Linked DNA regions of Homo sapiens: region 1 is linked to region 2. Evidence: promoter capture Hi-C in 16 types of primary human blood cells and fetal thymus (Javierre and others, 2016). All regions are on one chromosome and are shown on one strand. The core of a region is centred on a gene start or on the middle of the fragment in contact, and the rest is flanking DNA. Distances in the headings are between cores, read along the strand shown.

Region 1 (5,055 bases), core at 1,493-3,992, 3.5 Mb before region 2:
AAGGAACTGCCGTTTGCGGACTGCAGCGATTGATTAGGTACTTTAAAGAGATCAACTGGCAAGACAAATGACAAGGCAACTTTTAATCAGTAGTAGTATTTAGCTTTTTCTGATTTTAATTATCCCATTAGGTGAGGTTCTACTACACACACACGTTTTTCTTTCTGCATTTTATCGATGGAGAAACAGGCGCTTTGACATGTTTGAATTTGCGTAGTTCTTGGAATTCTAATAAAGTATTAGAAATGAGAGTTTTTCACTCTTTGCCCCCTTATGGCAAGCTTTTGGTTCTAAATGTGTGGTGTATTTTTTCTCAGGCAGGAGAGAGTTCTTTTCAGAATGTTTTCAATTTTTTATGGACTTAGAAGGTGGATAGAGAGAAAGAGAGAAGGTAACTCACGTGAGATTTTGGTTTATGAACTGTATTCGGCCTATGAGACCCTTTTGTATTTAGGGCAACACAATGATTAGAAGATTTGGGATTCTGCTATTTGTGTTTACATTGTTCACTAGGGCACACAAAGGTTTTGTTTTAAACTATAACTAACTTGATATTTGAGTCTGTTATATTGAATTGTCAAGAGTTGGTCAAATACACAAATTAGCAAGTATTTACTGGGTGCCTGCTTTATTCATGGATCTTCAGATTGCAGCATAGGAACAAAGATGGTCTGTTCCTTTAAGGAATTTAATAAGGTTGGGGGAGAGGGGAATAAGAAAGGTATTTAAAAGATACAGTACTCTCCACCTAAGGATAAAAAAAGTCTTTTAATGTTCTGTCTTGTAATTCCTTTATATTATACCTTTTAGGTCTTGCCATTCAAATTAAACAAACCTGGTTTAGTTATGGAAATTATGTTGTGCAATTTATCGAGCTTGGCTTTTAGGGCAGTAAATGTGTCTGTAGACATAACTGCCCTTGGTTTCATGTGAAGATTGTCTTGATCTTTGTTACATATAAAGGTAATACTTCTGTATGAAGCTCTGCTTCAGGCTACCTGTGAAAAGCATCAGAAAGCTTAACTTGTTAGAGATCACAATTGATTTGCTATATCTATATATTTTAATTAATTTTAGGCTATGACTTCTTATGTACCTGAGCTTCAAAACAGTAAAGAACGGCATTGCCAGTTTTTAAGTTATCTATAGAGAAACACATATGCCAATAAATGAGGCTGAACAAATATGTATAATGTTTATTGCATTTATGTAAAACATCAAAGTTAATCTGACGTGGTGAGTTTTTTTTGGGAGGTGGTAGTTTAGCTCCATTGTCTTACATAAACCCCCTACTTTTTGGTTTTCAGATTATATCACAATTTCTAAAATCTTTCTGGCAGCTTTGCAGTGAATCCTCATTTAAAACCATCTTGGATCCTTTCCTTACTAGAAATAAAATCTGTCTGTGTTATTCCTTTGTTCAAAAATTATTATTTATTTTTATTTTTGAGACAGGATCTTGCTCTGTTGCCCAGGGTGGAGTGCAGTGGCACAATCATGACTCACTGCAGCCTCAACCTCCAGGGCAGAAGCGATCTATCCTCCTCCCTCAGTATCCCCAGTAACCGGGACCATGGTTGCATGCCACCATACTTGGCTAATTTTATTTTATTTTTTGTAGAGACAGGGCTCACTATGTTGCCTAGGCTGGTCTCAAACTCCTGGGCTCAAGTGATCCTCCCGCCTCGGCCTCCCAAAGTGCTGGGATTACAGGTGTAGGCCACCGCACCACGTCTGGCCTGTTCAAAAAGTATTATCTCACCTGCATCTGGAAGAATATTTCCAACTTTGGTTTCATGGGTATATTAAAATCGTATGTAAAAATAGTGGATATTTGTAGTTTTCTGTGGCGCCAGTGCACAGGTGTCCTCAGTGTTATGAGGATTACATGAGTTATTACAAGTAAATCATCTAGGCAAATGTTTGGCATACAGTAAGCACTCAGAAAGTGTTGGCTATTACTGTGCATGGCTTTGTCTTTGCTAAATTAAAAGTCCCTGGAGAGGAGGAATTATAATGGAGGAATGGTTGAATTGCATATATTAGGCACTAAATACAGTAGTCCCTCCTTATCTGAGGTTTTGATTTCTGCAGTTTCAGTTACCCATGATCAACCACAGTCTGAAAATATTAAGTAGAAAATTCCAGCCGGGTGCGGTGGCTCATGCCTGTAATTCCAGCACTTTGGGAGACCAAGGCGGGCAGATCACTTGAGGTCAGGAGTTTGAGACCAGCCTGGCCAACATGGTGAAACCCCATCTCTACTAATATACAAAAATTAGCCAGGCGTGGTGGCATGTGCCTGTAGTCCCAGCTAGTCAGGAGGCTGAGGCAGGAGAATCAATTGAACCCGGGAGGTGGAGGCTGCAGTGAGCCGAGATTGTGCCACTGTACTCCTGCGTGGGCAACAGAGCGAGACTCCATCTCAAAAAAAAAAAAAAAAATTCCAGAAATAATGCATACATTTTAAATAGCATGCCTTTCTGAGTTGTGATGAAATCTTATTCCATCCTATCCCATTCAGCCCGGGGCCATGAATCATCTCCTTGTTTAGCGTATCCCTGCTGTATAAGCTTCCTGCCTTTTAGTTGCTTGGTTATCAGATTGATGGAGGTGGTATCACAGTGCGTGTGTTCTAGGAATACTTATTTTACTTAATTATTGCTTCAAAGCACAAGAGTAACGACGCTGGCAATTTGGTTATGCCAAAGAGTAGCTGTAAAGTGCCTCTTTTAAGCAAAAAAAGGAAAGTTCTCCACTTAATAAGGAAGAAAAGAAATCCTATGTTGATGTTGTTAAGAACTATGGTAAGAACAAATCTATCTGTAAAATTGTGAATAAGCAAAAAGAAATTTATGCTAGTTTTACTGTCACACCTCAAACTGCCAAACTTATAGCCATAGTGCATTATAAAAGCTTAGTTAAGATAAAAAAGGAATTAAATTTGTGGTTAGAAAATGTGAACAGAAGCATGCTCAGATTGAAGGCAGTTGGATTCAGCCTCCTCACGGGGCCTTGGGATATACACCCTTGGATAAGGAGAGGACTGCTATAAAAGGTTTTAGTATTAAGTTGGTATTGCATTTGTATCACCAGACCACTTTCTCCCCATTTTCTCTTTTTACTTTGTTGCTAGTGTTAATGATAGGGTTGATTTACATTACCTTTTACATTACCTACCTTTTTTCATTCACTGTTATTCACATATATTGAAAGACAATTGTTCTGCTTTTTTCCTCTTATCCTCAGCTAGCCTCCCTAACCTCAGGTAGAGGTTTTTCATGTTCCAGTGTTTGTCCTTTTTTTCTCCCCCCTTGTTTTTATTCCCTTCCCACATGGCTTTTCAATTCAGACTGAAATGTACTTGAGGACCAAAGTTAATACAGTTTTATTCTGTTAGGGATTTTTGTTAAATAAGTAGAGTTTCAGCTGCCCTTGTCACACACAAAAAATAAGATAGATGATAGGTGTTAATCTCCTTGACTAAAATAACCATTTTACTATCTGTGTGTATCCTATAATGTCAACTTGTAAACCTCAAATATACACATTAACATTTTTTAAAAAAAGAAGTTTCACCAAAAAAGACACTTCTATTTAATGTATGTCTTATTTCTTTTACCTTAAGAAATGTTTCTCTTAACCTTTCTCCATTTTCAACCCCATTTGTTTGCTCTTCTCTGCAACAAAAATCCTCTAAAGAGTTTTCTATGCTCCATGTTCCAATTCCTCTTTTTCTACCTCTGCATCTTCATTGGTATATTTAAAAGATATCTTGAACTCAGATGTCCCAGACCGAACTCCTTTCCTCCCAAACCTTTCCCATTCTTTCTCATCTGAATTGATGGCAACTTTATACAGCCAGTTGCTCAGTTAAATCTTTGGAGTCATCCTTGACTCCTTCCTTTCTCTTGTATTCCAACAAATCTGTTGGCTTTTTCTATGAAATATATCTAGAATTCAACAGTTTTCTACTATTTCTGCTATTAGTATACTGATCATCTCTTGCTCAGATTTTTGTTATTACCCACTATCATTTCTTGCCTGGATTATAGTAATTGTGTTCTGTTCTCTCTGCTTTTTTCAGTCCTTGCCTCCCTACAGTCTATTCTCATATGTCAGCCAGAGTGATACTTTTAAAATATAAATAAAAAATTGTGTATTTACATGTAAGATTCTAAATGCAATATGTTATGCTAGATTGGATCCTGAAACAGAAAGAGGTTATTAATGGAAAAACTGGTGAAATCCAAATAAAGTCTATGGTTTAGTTGATAGAAATGTATCAGTGTTGGTTTCCTGGTTTTGATAAATGCACCGTGGTAGTATAAGATGTTAATATTAGAAGAAATTGGGTGAGGGGTATATGAGAACTTTCTATTATCTTTGTAACCCTTCTGTAAATTCAGAATTATTTCAAAATAATATACAGAAGAATAAAACATTACTTTTTTGCTTAAAAACCTTTCGTGAATCATTTGATTCATAGTAGAAGCTAACAGCCTTACGTTGGCCTACAATAGTCTACATCAGTCTTGTCCAACTTACAGCTCACAGGCTGCCTGTGGCCTATGATGGCTTTGAATGCGGCCCACCACAAATTTGTAAACTTTCTTAAAACATTATGAGATTTTTTTTTTTTTGAGCCCTTTAGGTATCATTAGTGTTAGTGTATTTTATGTGTGGCCCAAGACAATTCTTCCTCCAGTGTGGCCTAAGGAAGTCAAAAGATTGGACACCTCTGCTCTACATGATCTGGTCTCCCATTACCTCTCTGACTACATGTCTTTGTATTCTCTCTCCCTTTGTTCCAGCCATACTTACCACCCTGTTTCTTAAGTACACTAGGCCTACTTCTACCACAGGGCCTTTGCACTGACTGCTGCTTCTTTCTAGAATGCTTTTGGATCCATACAGCTATTCCTTCATAGCTTTTACATGTTGTTCAAATGTCACCTTTGCAGTAAAGCATATCCCAACCTCCCTATTTAAATTGAAGCTTTGCAACTTCCATAGCCCCTACCCCTATCTCCTCCACCCTGTTTTATCTCCTCT
Region 2 (5,367 bases), core at 2,501-5,000:
TGTCTCTAAAGACACTTTCTATTTTGTACCCATCAATTCATGAAATGTCTCATTTCTCTTTAAATGCACTTTATAGTGAAAGAGTATCATACTGAATCCAAAGTTGCTCTAGAATTATTCACATTTTTCTTGCCAGCTATTATGACATGAATATAAATTGTTAGGCTACTTGTATAAGAAAAAATAAAACATATCTGTTCCAGGTTTATACTCCCGTATAACAAACTACCCCAAAACTTAGTGACTCAAGGAAACAATTTACTATTTTCTCTTACAATTCTGGGGGCTAATGGGCTCAGTTGGGCAGTTCTTGTTTAACAAGCTTCATAAAGTTGCAGGCAAATATAGCTGTGGCTAAAGTCACCTGAAGGCACCTTTACAAATATATCTGATGCCTGGGCTGGGATGGCAAGAATAGCTGGGTGCTGGTAAGTCTGTCCCTTTCCCTGTCTCCCTCTCCCTACTTACCCTCTCCTTCTCCTTGTCCTTCTTCCCTCTTCTTCCCTCTCCCCTTCTGCACATAGCCTACCCCCAACCCCTGCCCCTGGTAATGTGGCTTCTCCATATAGTTAGTTTGGTTTTCCTCTTAGTCCTGAAAGTCTCTGGATAGTTAGACTTCTCACATGGTATTTGACTTCTCCCAAGAAAACATTCCAAGTTGCTAAAGAGAAGCTGCAAGGCTTTTGATGAGCTAGCCTCAGAAGTCTCAGAATGTCACTCTGTTGCATTCTATTGGTCAATCCGGTCACTAAGGTCAAGAAAAGGGATGTTAGACCCCACCACTCAATAGAAAGAATTTCCAAAAAATTGTGGCCATCTTTAATTTCCTACGATGCCTACACAAAAATGGAATATTGCTAGATTTATTTAAACTTTTTCTTCCTTCTTTAGTGAATTTGAAAGAGACCAAAATTAGCATAAAACTCCTAAACTCAGACTACATTCATTAGTTAACTAATTTATTAATTGCTTTCTACTTAGTAATTAAGAAAAAACCATATAGCAACTAGTATAAAATTTTATTTTGTGCTCAGTGTGGCTTATTGACAAAAATATTCTTTAGAAAATATTTTGAAATAATTCTCAAGAGTGTGCTCTATAGGTGGTATCTAGCCACTAATACAAAAGTCAGTAATCTGCCAAGAATGAGTGATCTCAGCCACTTTGAATCCCACTTCAATTTACCTCCTAACTTATCAGTAGCATCAAAAAGCTGCAAAGTGCATTTCTGAGTGTCTAGCATTCTCTAGAATATGCCAGCTGCTACACCACCTTCAAATGGAACCACTCTACCTCCCATACTTTCAATGTTTTGGCATGTTTGGCACATCCATCTTCATTATAGCTGAAGAACTATCACAGAAACATGACTCCAGAGAAAGATATATTTGAAGCAAAGATAATATTTTACATGATACAGCCAAATTCTCATCTACAGATTGGTAATGAGAAACTGTTTTCCTCATGGCATCTAGAAGAAAGGCTAATTTCCTTAAATAGAACAGCTGTGTTACTTCTAGTTCTCTCTTTGTTGCTCCATAAAAAACTACCCCAAACTTAATGACTTGAAAAAACAACCATTTTATTATACCACACAAATCTCTAGAACAACATTTTGGGTAGGAGTCAACTAGACAACTCTGCTCCACACAGCAGTGACTGTGGTCACTCAGCAATATTCAGCTGAGGGCGGGGCTGGGCTGAAGTGTCCAAGATAGCTTCACTCACATGCCCGGCACTTGAGTGTAACCACCACCCTCCCCCATATTTACATAGGTATAAACTTTTTTTTTTTTTTTTTTTGAGATGGAGTCTCGCTCTGTCGCCCAGGCTGGAGTGCAGTGGTGTGATCTCGGCTCACTGCACGCTCTGCCTCCCGGGTTCACACCATTCTCCTGCCCCCGCCTCCCAAGTAGCTGGGACTACAGGCGCCCGACACCACGCCCGGCTAATTTTTTGTATTTTTAGTAGAGACGGGGTTTCACCGTGTTAGCCAGGATGGTCTCAATCTCCTGACCTCGTGATCCGCCTGCCTTGGCCTCCCAAAGTGCTGGGATTACAGGCGTGAGCCACCGCGCCCGGCCAAACATATTTTTTTTTTTTGTATTTAACTTACCACAAAGCCCATGAGAAGGCAGACAGTTCTGAAACCATATTCTGGAATCTCTGCCCTGCAGGTCCCTAAAGAGTTAACTCAAAGCCAGATACCCAATGGAGGCTCAATTAATGTGAATTAGAAGCAACAATGAACCAAATCCACAGATAACATTACTCACACTAGATTGAAAAGTGTAATCTAGAAATATTAAGTGTGAAAAAGTTTCTCAATTATAGTTAAATCAGAATTCTTTAATATGTAAAGGCAGTGAACGGAATGTTAAAAAAAAATGGAATGTCACATAACTTCTATAAATTAGGTGGTAGAGGACACCAGTTATGATGCATTTCATGAACCCCTACTCAAAAAGAAGCTACTTGTTGAAACAAAATATGAATTTAAGTGTTTTTTTTAAGTGTTTTTTTGGGGGGGAGGGGCATGGTTGTTCTCTTCCAAAAACTGAAAAAAAAAAAAAAAAAAAAGACGAAAAGAGCATATATGTTATGCCCTTTTCAAAGCAAACCTTAGGTCTTATTGGAATTGTTTCCTAATGCTATATAAATGAGACACGTGAGGCAATATACACTCCCCCACAGATGAATAACATAACATTTAGGTTACCAGGGCCTTTCACAATCTAACCTAACACCACTTTCCCAGGTTCATTTATCACTGGTTTCTTCTCAATACCTTCTGGTCAAAGACCACCAGAAGCACACATGTAATTGACAAACGGGGTTTATTATTCATTGCAGTAAGGGTTCTCTGTAAAATATTAGAAAATGCTTATTGGATTTGGGATTTTTTTCTCCTAATATTGGCTACCTTACCAAATCTTAGGAGGAAGAAAGGCTAGATCAAGGCTAAGATTGTAATTGGTAAAGAAGCAGAAGTCATCAAATTAAACCAGATAGGGTGATGTCCGGTCATTTTCGTGGCTTGGACAATGTTTTATCTGTGTTCAGATGTGATTACACAGTGATCATATTCTTTTCTTAATGAACACTGTCAGAGTGGTCTTGTTGGATGCTAATGCTTGCTGAAATTGTGTACGTTCATCAGGCGGACACCAGTTCCTAGTCCAGGCTAGCTCCAGGTGTCAGAGGCCACTTTTCCCTTCTACTCCTCACACATGCTGTACTCATACCAGACTTGAGTTTTCCCTGCCCTTTGTTCTTCCTTCTTTTTTATTCGATTCCCATTATCTTTAGTGATCATTCCCTTAGCATTTCAGTTTTCTCTCTGAAGTCCTTTGTGCTGCACGTTGTTTGATTACTTGTGTTTATGCTTTGTTTCTTCAGCTAGGATCATTAGCACATATCTCTCAGCATTGGCAAAAGTCCTCGAAATCATTGACACCTAGCATATACTTTATTTTTAAAAAAGAAAGAAAGAAGAGAAAAGGGATGGGTTTATTGTCCTTTTCAACAGACTAGAGTATACGGGGTGAAACTGCTTCACTTGATTCAATAAAATCGTTTCCGGTAACAGGCCCCAGGAATCCTAGACCTAAGCCTGGCGCGAAACTACATTTCCCACAATCCTTCGGGGGCTGATAAGGCTCCGCAATGGTCTGAACTACAATTCCCACAATCCAGGGCGATTTCCGCTTTGTCGCGTTTCCTCAAGGCTCCGCCCCATTTCCCATCTTTCTTTTCAGTCCTTGCGCACCGGGGAACAAGGTCGTGAAAAAAAAGGTCTTGGTGAGGTGCCGCCATTTCATCTGTCCTCATTCTCTGCGCCTTTCGCAGAGCTTCCAGCAGCGGTATGTTGGGCCAGAGCATCCGGAGGTTCACAACCTCTGTGGTCCGTAGGAGCCACTATGAGGAGGGCCCTGGGAAGGTTAGTGTGTAAGGGGCACGGCTTCGTTGGGGGAGGGGGCGCTTGGCTGTGACTCGCGCACCTGCAAGGCCGCCTCCGGGCTGTGGCGTGGGAGATGATAGCCAGAAACCAGGCTGAGACGCAGACTAGCATTCCACTTAGCCCAAGGACCAGTGAGGAAGCTGGGCATCCTAGCGCGTAGCCGCTAAAGGAATGGGCAGGTAGATCCGGAAGCCCTGCCTCCATCAGCCACCTGACGCCCCCTCCCCCGCCCCGCAGAAAGCCCTGAGATGGCTCCGGGAGGCCACGGCTGTAGGTGTGTTGGTTAAATCCGAGCTGGAGGTCATCGGACCCGAAATGAAGGTCATTGGAAAATCATGAGGAAATCAGGGCCTCTGGTTATGGAACAGGCTTTTTAAACTAGCTGCCTAAGTTAGAAGTACTAACCCTTCACCTCAGTTAAGGCTGGGTTTGGCCTCAGGTGTAAATAACTTAAACCACATAGCAGTAACAATCTCGGAGGGTCACACGAGGCCTAGTCATAAAGGCCAGAGAAGGTGCTTGGTAATGAAAAACAAACAAACAAAAAAAACTGTGGGCCAGGTGCGGTGGCGCACGCCTGTAATCGGGAGGCTAAGGCGTTCGGATCACCTGAGGTCAGGAGTTCCAGACCAGCCTGGCCAACATGGCGAAACCCTGTCTCTACTAAAAAGTACAAAAAAATTAGCCGGACGTGGTGGTGTGTGCCTCTAATCCCAGCTACTCGGGAGGCTGAGGCAGGAGAATCGCTTGAACCCGGGAGGTGGAGGTTGCAGTGAGCCGAGATCGGGCCACTGCACTCCAGCCTGGACAGAGCGGGACTCCGTCTCAAAAAAAAAAAAAAAGAAAAAAAAAGAGCTGTATTGCACTTAACATTGCCATGTATCTTCTAAGGTGACTACTTAGGACAGTAGTTTTTTCGATTTTCTAAAGTAAGAAACTTCTCACTATTTGACGTTTGAGTCCTCAAGACCATTCATTGCCTAGTGCTTAGTAAAGCCAGATTATTTCTTGCCATGTAGTGTTTTGTGATGAAGGTCATAGGATTTGAAAGATAAATGTTTAAAACGATGTTATGATTTATGGCATATGTTAACCTGATGATGTAAAATATAACTAGCATTTCCTGTATACTTGTATTTTGATTATTAAGCAGATGATTTGAGATTCAATTTCGATTACTTTTTCTCTTTTTTTCCAACAGAATTTGCCATTTTCAGTGGAAAACAAGTGGTCGTTACTAGCTAAGATGTGTTTGTACTTTGGATCTGCATTTGCTACACCCTTCCTTGTAGTAAGACACCAACTGCTTAAAACATAAGGATGTTTCAGTTCCTCCATTTAACAGGTAGTTAGTGGATTTCTAATCATGTTAAAGCAGGCCTTTTTATTAAGTAGCCTCTTCCCCA

What was found. Contacts are between HindIII fragments. The CHiCAGO score rates a contact against its expected background, and 5 or more counts as called.
Region 1: a fragment that was not itself captured here is called in contact with the fragment with the promoter of COX7C in region 2 in 7 of 17 cell types (non-activated CD4 T cells, total CD4 T cells, total B cells and 4 more); the score reaches 12.7 in non-activated CD4 T cells.

The regions. Positions count from the first base shown.
Region 1 is chr5:83,078,099-83,083,153 of GRCh38, forward strand. All of the region lies in intron 1 of XRCC4 (X-ray repair cross complementing 4), which reads left to right. Among named protein-coding and RNA genes, the nearest start is that of XRCC4, 3.1 kb to the left of the region's middle. RefSeq lists an enhancer at 1-343. The HindIII fragment of the contact is 343 bases long and covers 2,572-2,914 here.
Region 2 is chr5:86,614,191-86,619,557 of GRCh38, forward strand. COX7C (cytochrome c oxidase subunit 7C) reads left to right here and starts at 3,751. Exons shown (of 3, transcript NM_001867.3): 1 at 3,751-3,940; 2 at 5,163-5,306. The coding sequence starts at 3,866. The coding sequence ends at 5,279. RefSeq lists enhancers at 3,419-3,498, 3,510-4,175, 3,562-3,856, 3,789-3,878, 4,176-4,841. The HindIII fragment of the contact is 5,230 bases long and covers 321-5,367 here.